Regions from separate parts of the Homo sapiens genome. Here region 1 is linked to region 2. Evidence: promoter capture Hi-C in human tissues and cell types (Jung and others, 2019). All regions are on one chromosome and are shown on one strand. Each heading gives the region's core, a stretch centred on a gene start or on the middle of the fragment in contact. The rest is flanking DNA. Distances are from core to core; before and after follow the strand shown. Region 1 has its middle 2.7 kb from the start of SNORD14E. Region 2 holds the start of CLMP (CXADR like cell adhesion molecule).

Evidence for each region. Contacts are between HindIII fragments. The study calls those that stand out against the background at their distance.
Region 1: a fragment that was not itself captured here is called in contact with the fragment with the promoter of CLMP in region 2 in 1 of the 25 tissues and cell types used here (aorta).

The regions. Positions count from the first base shown.
Region 1 is chr11:123,053,968-123,056,986 of GRCh38, reverse strand. No RefSeq gene overlaps it. Among named protein-coding and RNA genes, the nearest start is that of SNORD14E, 2.7 kb to the left of the region's middle. The HindIII fragment of the contact is 9,040 bases long and covers 1-3,019 here.
Region 2 is chr11:123,193,637-123,196,702 of GRCh38, reverse strand. CLMP (CXADR like cell adhesion molecule) reads left to right here and starts at 1,455. Exons shown (of 7, transcript NM_024769.5): 1 at 1,455-1,790. The coding sequence starts at 1,763. The HindIII fragment of the contact is 11,250 bases long and covers 1-3,066 here.

The DNA of each region.
Region 1 (3,019 bases), core at 151-2,650, 140 kb after region 2:
CCAACAGTGAGTTGTGATAGCCTAGGGGAGCAGGCTGTTACCTGTCATTACGTACGTGACAGATTTCAGTGGACTAGCTAATCTTAGCATATGCCAAAAAGCTAATTCATGGAGGAGCTGCAGTTTTTCTCTTTGGTACTGAAGGGCTACTAATGTCTGGGTATCTCAGTGGGAATTTGTAGCACGATTTGATATACTTCTCATTCCATATTTTCTCCAAGGTTACAAAAAATGACAAGTAGTACACACTTCTTTTTTTGAAGGGTTTTACTCTTGTTGCCCAGGCTGTAGTGCAATAGCACGATCTCATTGCAATGGTGCAAACCCTGTCTCCTGGGTTCAAGGGATTCTCCTGCCTCAGCCTCCCAAGTAGCTGGGATTACAGCCATGCGCCACCATTCCTGGCTAATTTGTATTTTTTAGTAGAGATGAGGTTTCTCCATGTTGGTCAGGCTGATCTCCCTACCTCAGGTGGTGCACCCGCCTCGGCCTCCCAAAATGCTGGGATTACAGGTGTGAGTCACTGCACCTGACAGCAATGCACGTTTTTGGCATGTTTCTTTTGTTTGGGTGAGAATCTTACCTGGGCTTCAGTTTTCCATAGGGGTGTGTTATCACTTGTGCAGGCTGGACTGGAACTCCTGGGTCCAAGTGGTCACCCAGCCTTAGTTCCAAGTAGCTGGCTCTACAGGTGTATGTCACTGCACATGGCCATACCATGTATTTGAGATGCTACAAACTTTTTTGATGCCTTGACTCAACGAGACTAAAGGGTAAATATACTTTGATCTCGTTTCATGTGGAATCTTAAAAATATGTGGAAGGTTTTCAGTGGTAGCTGTTACTGTAAATTTTTGAACTTCAGGTTAATGTTAGCTTAATGTTCATTAGCAAAACACAAAATTAGAGGAGTAAATATGGCAATGTTTCCCCTATACAGATAATAACTTGTTGGACATGTGTAATGTATAGCAAGGAATTGGGGCCTGGGAAGGTGGGAATTAATATTTGCTAGGTTTTCTCAGTTATTCGTATTATACTTTCATCTATTTATAAACCAGAATGTGTTTATAGATGATACTGAGGCTCAGGTGGACACTTAATGTCATCACATAGTCTAATCTGGGGAAATGGATTTTTTTTTTTTTTTGAGAGCCTCCAGCCTCCCTTACCTAGGCTGGAGTGCAGTGGTGCGATCTCACTGCAGACATTGCCTCCCACTTTTGCATCCTCCCACCTTTGCATTCTCCCACCTGACTAGCTGGGACACCATGCCCAGCTAATTTTCATATTTTCTATAGAGCGGGAGTTTTGCCATGTTGCCAGGCTGGTCTTGAATTTTTGACCTCAAAATGGTTTGCCCCACCTTGACCTCCCAAAGTGCCGAGATTACAGGTGTGAGCCACTGTGCCTGGCCTATTGTTTGTAATTAGGGTTCTGCTGTGGGCTAGTAGTTTAAAAAACCAGTAAAGATGTTTAAACCCTATAAATGTCTAATTAGCTGTTAGGTAAGGCTTAGAGAAAGAGAAGGTAACCATAGGGACAGCAGTGTCTACCACTTCCCATTGAATTTCGAGTTAATGGCAATTGCTTCTCCCCTTATTTGATTCTCCAAATAACCTTACAATGGAGGGATGTTTGGATGCTCTGGCTGTGCATGCACAAATCTACACGGTGGCAAAATTTGCTTTTGCAAGTTACTGTAAGGAGGTTTGAGTTTATAAGAGGAAACTCCATGACCTAGATGGTTCTGTCCCTGCTGCACAGGGCGCTACTGGATTGGGAAGACAGGCCAAAAAACTTAATCTCTAGGTCCAGTTTAGGAGTTACATGCAGGTTTCTGGTGAACTTGGCAATATGGTTATATTCTAAAATGTATTTTTATTACTATAGCTCTCTCAGTTTCTACTTGACCTTATTAGACATTTTTCTTTTTTTTTTTTTTTTTTGGAGATGGGAGTCTTGCTCTGTTTCCCAGGCTGGAGTGCAGTGGTGTGATCTCAGCTTGCTGCAGCCTCCACCTCCCGGGCTCAAGCAATTCTGCCTAAGTCTCCTGAGTAGCTGGGACTACAGGTGCACGCTGCCACACCCAGCTAATGTTTTGTGTTTTAGTAGAGATGGGGTTTCATCGTGTACCGAGGCTCAGTATCCTGAGCTCAGGCAATCTGCCCGCCTCCCAAAGTGCTGGGATTACAAGCATGAGCCACCACGCCTGGCCCTTAATAGACTTAAACTTCTAAGGCAATAGTATAAAGCCACAATAATAAAATTATCCAACAATATTACTACAATATTTGTTACATATAAAATTAAAAAATGACAATGCCCGTGAAAAATCCTTTGTCCAAACTATATTGAGTACTTACAATGTTCCAGGCTTTAGGCTTTCAAAGGAAAAGTGGTCTTTTGGATTCCATTAAGGTGGGATGAAGTGGTTGCAGGACATAAATAGAAACGCTGAGAGTTTCCGTATCTGTGGGTCTACGTACTGATGTAGTCATCTTTGTCCACTAGATGGCAGTAGCTATTTATAAAACTATCAGAGTACCCCGGGGGAAGCTGCTGTAGCATTGTCTGTGCTGTTTGTTGTGCTTTCTAGCTGGAAGCACAGCAAATAATGAAGAAGGAAAAGGAAGTCAGCTCTAAATATCCACAATTACCTTCCAGGCAAAGCATTCTTTTTCTCCTTTTTTTTTTTTTTTTTTTGAGATGGAATTTCGCTCTTGTTGCCCAGGCTGGAGTGCGATGATGAGATCTCAGCTCACTGCAACCTCCACCTCCCGGGCTCAAGCAATTCTCCTGCCTCAGCTTCCCGAGTAGCTGGGATTACAGCCATGCGCCACCATGCCCGGCTAATTTTGTGGTTTTGGTAGAGACAGGGTTTCTCCATGTTGGTCAGGCTGGTCTCGAGCTCCCGAGCTCGGGTGATCCACCCGCTTCAGCCTCCCAAAGTGCTGGGATTACAGGTGTGAGCCACTGCGCCCGGCCCAGCATTCTCAACTGAGCAAGTGCCCTGCTT
Region 2 (3,066 bases), core at 206-2,705:
AAGTCCTCTGAGTGACCTTGTGAAACTTCCATAACCTCTCCAGGCCTTTGCTTTCCTAGTCTGCGAAATGGGACGGGTTTTCATTACACATTTGCATTTCATTGCAAATGTGTGACTCGGCAGCCCACCGGCCCCGGCGGGGTTCATCTTTCTTCTCAAGAGCGCTGGCCCCGGCTTCCAACCTGGGCTCTGGCGAGGCCGAAGGTGAGCGATTGCGTCATCATGCCTCTGGGCAGCTGAGGGAGAAGCCCTCCAGGGACATTCAGAGACTGGGACCAGAGTTTCTGAGAGGCCCTGGGCACAAGGTCAGGGCAGGAGGTCCAGGCAGCTGAGGTCTGAGCGCCACCCTCACTGCCCTTTCTTAGTCTCGCTGCCTCCCGCTGCCGCTGAGCAGCAGGGTAGTGAAGGGCAGACTCCCAGGGGCCGACCCTGGGGCGGGGCTGCTCGGCTCCGCGGAACCCACCGTCCGCCCCCGTCCGGCCGCCAGCCTCCTGCCCTCCGCGAGCCTCCTGGGCCGGGTTCCCGGAGCCCGGGCGCGCAGGCCCTGGCACCAGGGGGATTCTGCTCCCTCTGCCTTATGTTCTTTCTGAAAGGGGGTGGTGCACATTTTGGCCAGGGCCACGTGCAGAGCACTTTGCTGCAAAGCATCTCGATAGACCTCTTTCCACGGGGCTGTGGGTCCCCTTCCCCTGGGTGCTGGCTGGCTTAGCTCTGCTCGGGACCTGAGGGAGCGCTGCTGCAAATACCGACAGTAGAAAGCGAGCGAACGCGAAAGGCCCCAGGAAAGCCAGGCCAAGGGGGGTAGCCGGGTGCCAAAGCAGGCAGTCGGTGGGGAGAGCCCTGGTCGGCCGGCCGCTGGCTGCCTTCGCACCCACTTCCGCGCCCCGCCGTCGGCCTGGTCAGTCTGGTGGCTTTACACTAACAGAACCAGACGGGGAGGGAGAGGAGAGGCGAGAAGAGCGCAGAGGACAGAGGGGAGAGGGCATGAGGAGACGAGGAGGGAGAGGCAAGAATGCGAACAAGGAGACCTAGAGAGGAAGAGATGGAAGAGAGAAACGCCAGATTTGTGAGAGACGTGGAAGCAGAGAGAAACGAGAGTAAAAAAGAAGCGAGAGAGAAGTGGAGAGAAGGACCAAGTGAGAGCAGAGCTCTAGGAACGGACAAGGCCTCGTCCATGGGCTCTCAGCCGAGGTGTCACCAATGCCTCCTGCAAAGAATCAATCCTACGCCCGGCGCCTCTCAACCCACCCGCCTCTGCACGGCCCCAGGTCTCCCCCGGCCCTCCCTGCCCGGCCAGCTCACGCTTCTCCCCGACCGGCCCCCACCGCAAACCCCAAACGCCGCGCGGGAGGGAGGGAGGGAAGGAGGGAACAGCGAGAGAGAGAGGGAGGGGCTGCGGTAGGAGGCAACCATGTGGTTCCAGCTGAATTTTTTTTTTCCCTCTCTCTTTCTTCACTCCTTTTTCTTTCCAAACAGGGAAAAGTGTTCCACGAAGCGGTAGCGCCTTTTCGCCTCGCGTTTTCCTCCCTGACCCTGGTCCCGGCTCCCGTCCGGGCGCCAGCTGGTGGGGCGAGCGCCGGGAGCCCATCTGCCCCCAGGGGCACGGGGCGCGGGGCCGGCTCCCGCCCGGCACATGGCTGCAGCCACCTCGCGCGCACCCCGAGGCGCCGCGCCCAGCTCGCCCGAGGTCCGTCGGAGGCGCCCGGCCGCCCCGGAGCCAAGCAGCAGCTGAGCGGGGAAGCGCCCGCGTCCGGGGATCGGGATGTCCCTCCTCCTTCTCCTCTTGCTAGGTGAGTGCCTCTGGGAGGGCGGGAGTTTGGATGGCCGTGGGCAAACGCAGCCCTGCGTCCGGGAAAGACGCCGGTTCTGACCGGGTGTCCCTGCAGCCCCTGGAGTCAGCCGGCTTTTCAGTCCCTGCCTCCTGGCCACGGAGGAGCACATCTGGCAACCGAGGGCCGCCCAGTCGGCCATCGAGATTGTCTCGCACATCTGGGCCCTTGAACAGGCTTGGGGAACCGTTTGATGTGCAGGGTCCTCTTTAGGGCGGTGTTTAGTTTCTGGTGTATCTGGGAAAAGTGGAGAATTGGTGGAGGGAAGGTTTATCCAGGAATTTTTGTGCCAGGTTCCTGAGGGTGGGGGTTTTTTGTTGTTGTTTCAAACAGGCGCCTCCGAGGCTCAGATTAGAAACAGATGTGTTAAAGGGTGAGCAGAGTGGGGGATAGGCAGGGTTGGAGAGGAAAGGGGAGAGGGAAAAAGGGCAGGGCCCAAGGAGCACCAGGAAGATGCAAATGCCCCAAGTCACACAGGGAAGGAAGGAAAAGGGGAAAGGGGAAGGGTTGGGAAGGAGAGAGAAAAAGAGGAGAACAGGAATGTAAAACAGAAGAGCAAGGCTGGGGGAGTCCGAGCACAGAGAGTGAAGAAGACTTGGAAAAAACGCAGCAGAGGAACCAGAACAGAGGGAAATAGAGCAAGCACCACTTTTTCCTGAAACAGGCTCCAGAGCAAAGGGAAGAGTCCTCCTGAGCGTCCCTTCCTGGGGTCCCCCAGGCAGGACTCTTGGGGCCTCAGAGGCCCTGAGGCAGAGGCAGGTTTGCAGGAGAGGACATCAGGGATGTGGGTGGTAGGAGCCCACCGGAGTGACTGGAAATGTCTGAGGAGCCAGGGCAGGAAAGGCAGTCAGGGAGAGCCAAGGGCACGTCACTATGCACCCTGAAGCATGGGATCCACTGCAGACAGGCCCCACAGTTAGCTGGAGATCAGAAAATCAAAGAGCCAGCCAGTGGTCAAGAGTGAGCACTACCCTGAACACCAGGCCACGGGAGAGCTGGTCCTGGTTTTGAACTGACTAGCTGGGTGGCCTCAGACAACTTACTCCTTATCCAGGGCTTCCACGTCTTTAGCTCTGGAAAGAGAATACTAGATGGTTCCTAAGTCCCTTCTAGCCTACAACACCAGAGGTTTGAAGGAGGCTGGTGTCTAGAAGAACCACCAAATCCTGAAATACGTGGTTAGAGTTCTCTGTCTTTTTTGAAACTTTACAAACCAATTATACTGTATGCATACCCA